2 separate regions of the Homo sapiens genome follow, and region 2 is linked to region 1. The links are contacts of gene promoters, found by promoter capture Hi-C in blood cells and fetal thymus (Javierre and others, 2016). All regions are on one chromosome and are shown on one strand. The core of a region is centred on a gene start or on the middle of the fragment in contact, and the rest is flanking DNA. Distances in the headings are between cores, read along the strand shown.

Evidence for each region. Contacts are between HindIII fragments. The CHiCAGO score rates a contact against its expected background, and 5 or more counts as called.
Region 2: a contact is called between a fragment that was not itself captured here and the fragment with the promoter of PATZ1 in region 1, in 1 of 17 cell types (neutrophils). The highest score is 5.9, in neutrophils.

Annotation. Positions count from the first base shown.
Region 1 is chr22:31,341,928-31,347,902 of GRCh38, reverse strand. It overlaps PATZ1 (POZ/BTB and AT hook containing zinc finger 1), which reads left to right and starts at 1,557. Exons shown (of 5, transcript NM_014323.3): 1 at 1,557-3,571; 2 at 4,943-5,006. The coding sequence starts at 2,301. It overlaps LINC01521 (long intergenic non-protein coding RNA 1521), which reads right to left and starts at 1,144. Exons shown (of 1, transcript NR_120386.1): 1 at 1-1,144. RefSeq lists silencers at 1,052-1,271, 1,322-1,391, 1,762-2,181, 2,732-2,801 and enhancers at 3,622-4,159, 4,160-4,698, 4,699-5,236. The HindIII fragment of the contact is 6,732 bases long and covers 1-4,128 here.
Region 2 is chr22:30,954,201-30,960,027 of GRCh38, reverse strand. MORC2 (MORC family CW-type zinc finger 2) reads left to right here. Exons shown (of 26, transcript NM_001303256.3): 2 at 1,334-1,387; 3 at 3,231-3,265. Among named protein-coding and RNA genes, the nearest start is that of MORC2, 12 kb to the left of the region's middle. The HindIII fragment of the contact is 8,448 bases long and covers 1-5,827 here.

The DNA of each region.
Region 1 (5,975 bases), core at 308-2,807:
ACAGGAGTTTGGCATGTACTATGCCCTAGAGCGGAGGTGTGCAGGACAGGTGCTGCTGTCCCTGTGCACAGGTTAAGAAACAGTTTAACTGAATCTCAGGGAGGCCAAGTGACTAAGCACCAGGACACGAAACCAGAAGGCAGAGGTCTCGATTTTGAACTCGGATCATCCGCCAGGGCAACGCCCGGAAGCCTCAGGGCGCGCGTGGCTGGGCGCGAGCTCGGCGCGCAGCGGTGGGAATCCCGAGCGGAGTTGGAAGCCGGGCCCGTTCATTTGCATGCTAATACCCAGAATGCTTTTCCCCCGCACACCGCTTCTCTTAATGGAAGCGCTCAGTTTGGAACCGTGGAAAGTTTGGAACACATACTTCGCTGCCTCTTTGCAACTGTGGGAACTTCCCGCCCGCACACGCGGCGCCTGCAGCCTGGGGCTCCGCGCCAGGCGGCCCAAAGGCAGCCGCCAGCGCTTCCTGGGAAGACAAACCTTGGTGTACAACTCTAGCGTGGTAGCATCCCCGGGCGGGCCGGGGACAAAGCGCCGAGGCCTGGCGGCAGGGCCCATTACCAGAGCACCCGGCGTCTCACAGGGCTGCGGGCGCTGGGGATGCTCCGGGCTTGGAGAGGCCTGAGGGTGTCCCCGACTCCTCCGGCACCCCCACTTCCCTGAGGATTGCTGGGGCTTCCGGGGGTCCCTGCCCCGTCCATCGCCCTCATATTGTCGCCTCCCGGAGCTGGTGACTTCACGCTCCCCGGGGACAAAGCTCGGCGTGCTGTGGTTTGGGGGAGAAGCTGGACGCTGGCTTCATCTCTCCAGCTCTTCCGGGCGCGCAGCCCATCAGATCGATCAATGTACCGGGTGCAGAAGCAGCTCCGGAGGTTCGGCCTGTCTCCGGCCAGGACCCCGGGCCCTCTCTGGTGTTTGAAGCAGGGAGGCGGTCGCAGGCGACTTCTGGGAATTTCACGCATGAAAGCGGGGCTCCGAAGGGTGGACGACGCCCGCTCGACCTGCGAGTGCGCTTCGCAGGCTGGGGGGCCCGGATCCGCACCCCTCAGTTCCTGCCCCCCCACCCTGCTAGCCGCCACTCTCAGCGGGCAGGGGAGGGGCAGTGGGAGCTGGTTTGCTGGCTCGGCGCTTCGTTTGCATTGGTCCGGGGGGGCTGAGACTGCAGCCCCCGGCCCCGCGGGCGGGGTGGGGAGGCGGGGGCCGGACGGGGGCTCAGGCTGCTCTAGCATTGGCGGATCTGGGGAATGGGGAGGGGGGGCAGGAAGCGGGGGGAGCGGACTGCGGGGGGGGGGTGTATAAATAGGGAAGGGGGGACGTGCATCCTCGTCTTGGTGAGGGGGGGGCGCTCGGCACAAAGAAAGTGTAAAGTTTGCAGCGCCAGGCGGCCCGGGCTAGGCATCCGGGCGCGCACGTGCAAGGCCGGGGACGCCGGGGCCCCCACTCTGAGCTCGCCGTTTCTTTTTTTTCTGCAAGCGAGAGGGGGGGTGTTGTTGGTATCGCCCCCTCCTTCTCCTCCCCCCAGGGGTGAAAGTGCAAGAGGAAGTGCAGCCGCTGCCATCTTTCCTCCGCTCCGAACACACGGAGCCCGGGGCCGCACAGCCGCCGCTCCGCCGCCGCCTTCTCCCGGCCTGAGGAAGGGCCTACTCTGCCGCCGCCGCCGCCCGCCCGCTCCAGCCGCCGCCGCCGCCGCCACCGCCCTCCAGGCTCCGGGACCCGGCCCGCGCCACCGCCCCCGTGCGCGCCCCGCCGCCGCCGCCTTCGCCTTCGCCTTTTGTTTCCTCCGCTCCGGCGCCCCCGCCCCGGCTCGCGCTTTGCAGGGGACGCAGCGCGCGCCCCCAGCGGGCCCGGGAAAAGCCGCGGCGCGCGCGCGCGCCTGCGCGGCGGACCCCTCCTTCTCCTCCCCGCGTGCGCGTGCCCTTCTTGGCTGCGCGCCGGCGCCGCCTGGCGGGCGGGAGGGGAGGTGGCAGGCGCGTTTGCAGGAGGGGCGCACCTCTTCGCTCGCGCACCCCCCCGGAAGGTAGACCGGGAAGGGGAGGCGGGCGGGCGGAGAGGAGAGAGTGGCGCGCAGTCCAGCGAGGGCGGGGGTTGGCTATGTGGGGGGTGGTGCACCCCGCAGTCTAGACAGTCTGATCCGGGCTGGGGGCGTGTACACTCGGCGCACCTGCGAGACTACAGAGCCTCGGGCCGGCACGTGTGGGGAGTGTGGACACGTCTGCTGCGCCCCGCTTCTCGCTGCTGAGGGGAAGGGAGGGGGCGGGCAGGTGCAGCGGCCGGGCTAGTGGGAGGGGGCGGCGGCCATGGAGCGGGTGAACGACGCTTCGTGCGGCCCGTCTGGCTGCTACACATACCAGGTGAGCAGACACAGCACGGAGATGCTGCACAACCTGAACCAGCAGCGCAAAAACGGCGGGCGCTTCTGCGACGTGCTCTTGCGGGTAGGCGACGAGAGCTTCCCAGCGCACCGCGCCGTGCTGGCCGCCTGCAGCGAGTACTTTGAGTCGGTGTTCAGCGCCCAGTTGGGCGACGGCGGAGCTGCGGACGGGGGTCCGGCTGATGTAGGGGGCGCGACGGCAGCACCAGGCGGCGGGGCCGGGGGCAGCCGGGAGCTGGAGATGCACACTATCAGCTCCAAGGTATTTGGGGACATTCTGGACTTCGCCTACACTTCCCGCATCGTGGTGCGCTTGGAGAGCTTTCCCGAACTCATGACGGCCGCCAAGTTCCTGCTGATGAGGTCGGTTATCGAGATCTGCCAGGAAGTCATCAAACAGTCCAACGTACAGATCCTGGTACCCCCTGCCCGCGCCGATATAATGCTCTTTCGCCCCCCTGGGACCTCGGACTTGGGCTTCCCTTTGGACATGACCAACGGGGCAGCCTTGGCAGCCAACAGCAATGGCATCGCCGGCAGCATGCAGCCAGAGGAGGAGGCAGCTCGGGCGGCTGGTGCAGCCATTGCAGGCCAAGCCTCTTTGCCTGTGTTACCTGGGGTGGACCGCTTGCCCATGGTGGCTGGACCCCTATCCCCCCAACTGCTGACTTCCCCATTCCCCAGTGTGGCATCCAGTGCCCCTCCCCTGACTGGCAAGCGAGGCCGGGGCCGCCCAAGGAAGGCCAACCTGCTGGACTCAATGTTTGGGTCCCCAGGGGGCCTGAGGGAGGCAGGCATCCTTCCATGCGGTCTATGTGGTAAGGTGTTCACTGATGCCAACCGGCTCCGGCAGCACGAGGCCCAGCACGGTGTCACCAGCCTCCAGCTGGGCTACATCGACCTTCCTCCTCCGAGGCTGGGTGAGAATGGGCTACCCATCTCTGAAGACCCCGACGGCCCCCGAAAGAGGAGCCGGACCAGGAAGCAGGTGGCTTGTGAGATCTGCGGCAAGATCTTCCGTGATGTGTATCATCTTAACCGGCACAAGCTGTCCCACTCTGGGGAGAAGCCCTACTCCTGCCCTGTGTGTGGGTTGCGGTTCAAGAGAAAAGACCGCATGTCCTACCATGTGCGGTCCCATGATGGGTCCGTGGGCAAGCCTTACATCTGCCAGAGCTGTGGGAAAGGCTTCTCCAGGTGAGGAAAGGCCCCCTCTTCCTCCCCTGCCACACGTTATCTTAGTCCTGAAAAGGCTCCTGCCAAGATCTGGGGGTGTGGGATTTGTGGGGGTCATTTGACCTTATAGAACCATGCCAGGTTTGGGTAGAGTGTTTTTAAGGGCCCTTATTTTGAGATGGTATGCCTGAGACCTGCTTTCCATTCCCTCAGGGAAGTTTTTTTGACGCTAAGTGTGCCCTACTGTCTCTCCTCCTGGGGCCGGATTCCTCAGGCCAGAGCCACCGGACCTCACCATTCTTCCCCCAGGGCTCCCTTTGTGTTTCCGGCACCAGGCGTGGGGCCCCCTCTGGGGGCGGGAGACTGGGCTCCTCCAGCGACTTCCCCGCTTGAATGGCTGCCGAGGGAGGTACTGGAACAAGTGCATCTGGGACTCCCTACACTCTTGAGGCACCAGATTCCCCAACACAGAACACTGGCCATCCTGATCAGTAGACTCCAGCTGTGCCTCTCACACCACCCTGGGATCATGGGACACAGAGCTGGTCACCCAGAGCTGCTGCTTAACACCAAAAGCTTTGATCTGCTCTGACCTGGTAGCTCTAGAGCCTAATGGGACCCACGAGCCCCTTTATGTTTTCAGGACAGAAAGGAATGGGGACAGGATCTCTATGTAGGTTCACTTTCTAGTTAGCCTGTTGGGGAACTGAGGACTTGTCTGGGAGCAGAGGGTGATTTTGTTTTTCTCCTAAAAGGCCGGTTTTAACCTGGATTGTAGGACCTTGTGTGTGTGAACACAGGGATGGAGAACTCCCTCAGAGGGCCCCGACCAGGAACCAGTCTTACCGGTCAGGCAGCCCCTGCCCACCTGCTCAGGCGGGCATCTGGCTTACCAGCCCAGCTGGGGACTTAAGGCTCCACTGCTGGCCTCTGGGGACTGAATTCCATCCGGGTGGCATTCATTGGCTGCCCGTGGCGGGAGAGGCTGGGGGAGGGGATTGCTGAGTTTCTAAGGGGCTTTAGTCTGGACAATGAATCACATATCCCCTCCTGGAAAGGCTGCAGTGAGGCAGCTCTGTTTCATTCTACTGCCACCGCCTCTGGTCCTAGAAAACACTGAGTTTCTGGTGGGGAGAATTGAGGGAGTGGGGAGGCAAAATCAGAGACAAATGCCCATTTCTCTTCCCCCCTCCAGAGAAAACCAGGGCAGAGAGGCCTGGGCCTGTGGAGCCAGAACTGGGTGGTGACTTTGTCTTTGTCATGCTGGGGTTGGGGAGAGGGAGTCCTTTCCAGCAGTGAGTGTGTGTGTGTGTGTACACACGTATGCATATGTGCCTGTGTGGTGGGGTCTGGCCAAGTTTCTAAAGTCCCTCTTGGTTCTCTCTTTTCCAGGCCTGATCACTTGAACGGACATATCAAGCAGGTGCACACTTCTGAGCGGCCTCACAAGTGTCAGGTAGGGGCTGGGTCAGGGCAGAGATGGGCTGAAGGAGATGATGCTGTTCTCACGGTCGCAGCCTTGAGCCAGCCGCTGCGTGTGCCGGGGGCCCGGCTGACCGCCCACCGCTTTGCACACCTCCCCTCTGTTCCTCCACCCTCCCTCTGCTCTCCTCCTTTGTTCTTCCCCCAGGCCCCCTTCCCCCACAGCTGACGTTCCTCCTTCCTGGTTGCTTGGTCCTGGTTCCCACCCTGTCTTTGCCTTCACTCTGTTGCTTGGCTTTCCTCTCCTGGTGTTTGCCGGCTCCTTGGATGGTGGGCCGTATCACACAGATGTTGTGTTGGGAGACCCGGCACTGCGCTGGGCCTGACTGTTGGTTTCCAGCAGTTTGTAGGGACTGCAGGTTTTTTTAAAAGGGCTCCTGGTGGTCCAGCCAACCACTCTTCCCCTTTTCTGACCTCAGTTAGAGCTCCTCCTGGGTCCCCTCAGCTTAGGGCACAAGGCAGTGGGGGAGGTAGGAGGTAGGGAGTGGGTGGTCCCCTCTCCCACACTGGCATCTGTTTAACCCATCCTAAGCCAGGGTTTCTGGAGGACTGGAGAGCAAAGTGGGCTCTTCTTCTTTTAGCTCTTTGCAAAGTAGCAGGTAGGAAACGCTGGACCAGATAGATTCTCACCCTTGGTTTACCTGCTTGAACAATATCTGGGGGCCCTGCTGGTACCCAAAAGATTGAGTTTCCTCTCCTGGCCACTGAGCCTTCCTGTGTGGATAGCGAACACACCTCTGTCTTCTCCTTGGTTATCTCCCCTCTCCCATGCCAAGTTCCCATCAAGTGAGGGCGAGCCATGATTGTGGGGTGTGCACTGCAGTCTCTGATAGGATAACCTGCTTCTCCTTATCCTGTTGGTGGCAAGGGGAGAGGGTTCAGGGAGACCAGCAGGGAGGGATGAATGTGCCGTAAGTAGGGCAGAGCCCCTGGGGGTCAGGCG
Region 2 (5,827 bases), core at 1,659-4,158, 390 kb after region 1:
CCATCGCACTCCAGCCTGGGCGACAAGAGCGAAACTCTGTCTCAAAAACAAAACAAAACAAAAAAATTGCATTTGTAAAAATTTGGAGTTACTTGAGGAAGAAAAAACAATATTCCTGGAGAGTTTAGTTATGGATATTTATTTAATAAATGTTTTACATTTTGTTTGCAATATGGTAAGCGATCAGAGATCCTAGATGCTGGTTATTTACTATTGATATATTTCATTTAAAAATTCTTACTTTAACTGAAAATTGGCTGAAACTTTTTACTTTGGCTGAAACTCTATGCAAAAAAGTCAGAGTAACATGGATATTTTTGAAAAATTGATGGTCATGTATTATGTGGGTTAATATTGTATTTAATCAGAAGTCAAGTGTTTTTTTTTTAGGTGGTTCTATGTGGACACATCCTAATTTGATATCTCATGAGGACTATTGTGGAAAAGAGCACAAATTAAACAGTGTAAATTGCACATGCTCAATGTATAACTTGTTAGCATTTTGTTTTACCAATACTTGTGCGTCATCTACCAGTGAAGAAAGGAAACTCATACACTTTTGTGTAATTTATAAGCAAAAATATCCCATTTGAAAGAGAAGGTAAAGAGAATAACTCATTTTATGACTTTCTCAGATTTTGGCTAAAACCAGAACTTTCCCTCCATTAAAGAAAGTAATCGAAGACCTTTTCCAACAATTCCTTCTAGGATGACAAGAGCTTGCTTGGTGTGGTTGCCTAGGGCCCCTGTTAACATTAACCCCTTCAAGGAGGGGAACCAGTGGTCATCTCCTCTGGGAGGCTGCTCAAAGTTTGGATTGAGTAAATACACAGTTATCATGTTATTCAAAACTTACTATACTCCAGTCCGAGTGACAAGAATGAGAACCTGTCTCAAAGAAAAAACAAAAAACAAAGTTCAATATTTATGCATAAGATATATCCTTAAAATTCTTGCTCTGAGATATGCAGAAACTGACCACTGGTTAAGGCAATGAAAAATAAAATATACAGGCATTTTTCTAGGCAGGATATGAATAGTGAAAAACACTTTTAGCAGTTACTACACATAGGACTCTTTCAATGCTTCAGGGTGGGTTTCCCAACTCAAAATAGGAAGAATAATCATTTCTGAATAGATGGCAGGACTTGTTAAAGATTAACAATTGAGGGGAGTTGGGGAGCTCTGGAAAGCCTTGAGTAGTATAAAAACAATGCAAATGGTGGTTTTAAGATTTTTTTCAAAAAACTTAAATATTTTATAACCATGGCTTTTTATTAGGAATTATAACTTCAATAATTCTTTTGCTGACTTTTAGTATTTATCATTTCAGAACCACTCACGAATTCTTGTTTGGTGCCCTTGCTGAACTGGTTGATAATGCAAGGTATGTAGTCTTCAGGCATACAATCTGTGCTTGAAGTGGAAACACTTTAGGTAGCTGTGACCTTTGCTCTCTGAAGACTTGAGAGGAAGACATTTCTGTAGAATGTAGACATTCTGTAACTCCTAGGATGCCTCTTACTAAAAATAATATTTTTAATAGCACATTAGTTGATAACTTCCACTTTCTTACTTAAATTCACTAATTGTTCTTTGTGTTCTAGCCTAAAAATAGTGAGTTATCACCTCCAAAACCACTTCCCTTGTGTATTAGAGCAAGATAATTGTAGTAAAATGCAAGGAATTAAGATAGACACTTAGGAATCATATTAATGAGACAGGCAGGCTCTGATTTAATTTGTGCTAGCAGGATAGTACACCATCTAATGTCTTTAAAACTATGCCAAAGTTCTGTGTCTTCTCAAATTGTATATTTGTCAGATAACTAAATGATCACAGTGTCTTTCATTGTTAGCAGCTGTGCTTGGAAGGAATCATTGGTCAGCACTGTCTTATACTGAGTTCTTAGTGATAGAAACATGTAAATGTTACTGTGTAAGACTGAATAGAAGTTTGGGTTAGTTCTGATGTAAATCCAAGTCCATATCAAGATTCTGTTTATAATTAGGAAAATAGTGTCTTAGTCTTATTCCTGAATGCAAACATAAAATTCAGACACATTTACTGACTAGGTTTTGATGACTAAGGAAGGAAGAGGAGGATGAAAATTGACAGCGGAAGTACTTTCAAACAGATCTCCAGTTAATGTGCTCGCTGATAATTTCCTCTTTACCTCTGTGTATACAATAAACTTATTCTAATTACTTTTGTTGTTGTTATTAGCTGGACTGCTCATGGAAGTGTGCTAGTTGTTTAACCAGAAAACTCCTGTTTTGTTTCAATCCTGGTTGACTCATCATTTTTCCATTCAATTAAAAAGTGTTGTAGGTTAATGGAACTGTGTTTGAATTTGCCACTTGTTAATTTAGTGAGACCATGATGTGCGGTGGCAGGCTGCTTTTTTTGTGTATCATATGGTAAAATAGAGATTCTTAGGAGTATGTATTCCTACTTGTGTATACATTTTGCCAGTATCTCTCATATTTGAAAATGTTTTAGATATTTGAGAATAGGTATATGTAGAGCTGTGTGGATTTTTTGCATGTAAAACCAGTGAAACGGTTTCATTTTCTTTGCAGTTGGCAGAATTGGACTAAATTACTTCTGAGCCTTTATGGAAGTCTTCATTGATAACTGAATCTGTATGATTTCAGCCAATGGTTGGAGTCTAATGGGGCAGGGGTATCCCAACTTCCTTTCAGGTTTAGGGAGGTTAAGATTATGGGCTCAGGAATCAGTCTGCTGACTGCAGTGTGTATACCACGAGAAGTGATTTTTCACAGGTTTTGTGGGAGATTATTGTCTTCCTTTTTTCTTAAAATATTGACGAGAAGAAAAAGTGGACAAGTTATTGGAACATCTTTTTATGATTGCAATCAAATGAGTGAGAAAAACATATTTGAATCATTTCTTAGGGTATAAAGGGAAATATTCTTGCTTATCCTATAGATGTTTTTACCACAAAATCAGGATTTAAAAAAAATATCCAGGCCCCATGTCATGTGATCATCTTCAATAATTTGGGGCTTCAGAAATGTTTTACAGATATATAAAGAAAATTGTGTTGTCAAGTATAAAAGTAAAAAAAATTCTAAATGTCTATAGAATTTCTGTATGGCTTCCTGAAAACAGACTCAAAATACTCTGCATTCTACTCAAATCACTATGCATTTTGATGGTTGATATTTCATATTAATTCACATGATTCTTTTCTTTTCACTTTGCAGAGATGCTGATGCCACCAGAATAGATATTTATGCAGGTAAGTCAGGCTTTAGTCCTTCTAATGTCTAGTTCATCTTAATGCATTTATTACTGTGCCTAAGAAGAATTGAGTGGGAAATAACTGGATTCGGGAGCCTGGGAAGATGGCATGATTATTCCAGGTCATAGGTAGAAAAGGGGCAGCCGTAGTCAGGTATGGTCAGCTCTGGTCAGGCATAGAAACCAAGAATATTGGTTTCAAGAAACTAACACAAGGTATCCAAATCTATGTAAATAGCTACTAGTAGAGTTATGGAAGTGATGGAGTGGAACAGTAGAGAGTGAAATGACCAAGTTATTTTACTGGTAGGCGTTAATAGGTGAACGAGGTTTGTGGTACCTGCAGCCAAGGAGAGATCTTGTTGGAGGCCACTTTGTTTTGAACTCTTGGTGAGCACTAGTCTCAACTTGGAGAATTGCTGGTATCGGTTGCGGAAAATAGCAGTAACTGGATTGGCTCTGAGGTTTGCTGAGTTGTTCTCAGAGGTGTCAGGAAGGAAGGCTGCTTGGCTTGGAATTTACACCTGTCAACATCCTATTTCGTTTTGCTTATTTGGCTCTGCTGTTTTGTAGTAAGATCTTCTCCTTTTCCTAGAGTGAGTGCAACAGTCATTGGCCTTTTAATTAATTAACTCATTAATTTTAATAGTTTGCTTTCTGCCTGGTATTTGTACTAGCACCTTTTTTAGTCATTTGAATACTAAAAATTTGAAAGCAGAATGGAGGAAGACAGCTTTTTTTTTTTTTTTTTTTTGAGATGGAGTCTTACCTTGTCACCCAGGCTGGAGTGCAGTGGCACGATCTTGCCTCACTGCAACCTCCATCTCCCAGGTTCAAGCAATTCTGCCTCAGACTCCCAAGTAGCTGGGATTACAGGCGCCCACCACCACACCCGGCTAATTTTTTGTATTTTTAGTAGCGACGGGGTTTCACCACGTCGGCCAGGCTGGTCTCAAACTCATGACCTCAGGTGATCTGCCTGCCTCGGCCTCCCAAAGTGCTGGGATTACAGGCGTGAGCCACCACACCTGGCCGGAAGACAGCTTTTAAATACAATTCGACTAGTGTGATGTGTTTTTTTCTGACAGACTTTTCTGAAATCCTCTGAAATGTGTGAGGTGATATTTTGAGTAGCATGAACTAGGTTCTGAGAAGTCTGTATGTTTACATGGGAATGAAATAACCCCTCTTCATGGACCCTTTTGATGAATGGGAACAAGCACACAACTAAGTAGTAATTCTCAGAACCACTAATGTCATATAATTATGAAGAATCTGCCCCAGATTTGATGAATTTCTCATGTCTGCTATACTTTGGAGCAAAGAAAATCCTCAGAGCAGCTAAAAGTCAGCTGTACTGCTTCAATTCTGAAAGCCTTTTGTTCAAAAGGCTCTGCCAAAGTGGTAAAAATAAGGCTTCTTTTCTCTCTAGAAGAAAGTAACAGGAAATAGGGGCACACAGGAAAAGAATGTTAGAAGATGATTACTAAATGCTCAGGCCAAGGCTGGGCGTGGTGGCTCACACCTGTAATCCCAACACTTTGGGAAGCCGAGGCAGGCGGACCACCTTAGGTCGGGTGTTTGAGACCAGCCTGACCAACATGGAGAAACCCTGTCTCTACTAAAAATACAAAATTAGCCGGGTGTGGTGGTGCATGCCTCTAATCCCAGCTACTCGGGAGGCTGAAGCAGGAGAATCGCTTAAACCCAGGAGGTGGAAGTTGCCATGAGCCAAGATCGCACCATTGCACTCCAGCCTGGGCAACAAGAGCGAAGCTCCGTCTCAAAAAAAAAAAAAAAAAAAAAAATGCTCAGGCCAGATGGAGGTGCCTTTCCAAGCCAAAGCATGTATCTTACATCTGAGTGTGCTTTCTCAGGAATGGTAACAGCTACCGCTGGAAAAATAGGGCTTATTTAATCAATGCACAGATGCTAAAGCAGAGAATGGGCCTCTTCTCCAAGTGATGTTGAAGGTACAAATCGTAATGGTCAAGTCTACTTGGAAGACGTTTTTTAAAAAAGATCATCTCTGCTGTCTCCTACTACATTTGGTGGGTAAATTTCAGCAAGGAAGTTTAGTTCCTGACACTCAGAATGAAGTTGGATTTCAATTTAAATGAAAAAGGACCCAGTGTGTCTTTATTCTGTGCTCAGTACAACTCCTGTTATGCTTTGGGAAATGTCCAGAGAGGAGGAGATGGGGGTCTTTGCTTTAAGAACTTAGTCTTTAATTGGAGAGACAATTAATGCACTATGGATAATTAGAGAACAATAACTAGATCTTGAGGGAACAGTCAAGACAGTTAAGGATTAAATGGTGTGATAGAAGCACTAAGCACCATAGCATTTTGGAAAAAGACTTGATTTACTTCAAGTACCAGGAGATTGGGATTCTTGGCTAAGGGATCTTTAACCCTACACTTTTCTACCACAGGGCCTTGTTAACACATTCAACAGGAGAAATCAGTCCGTGGAATCTTTTTTTTTCACCCAGGCTGGAATGCAGTGTGCTATCTAGGCTCACTGCAACCTCCACCTCTCGGGCTCAAGTGATCCTCCT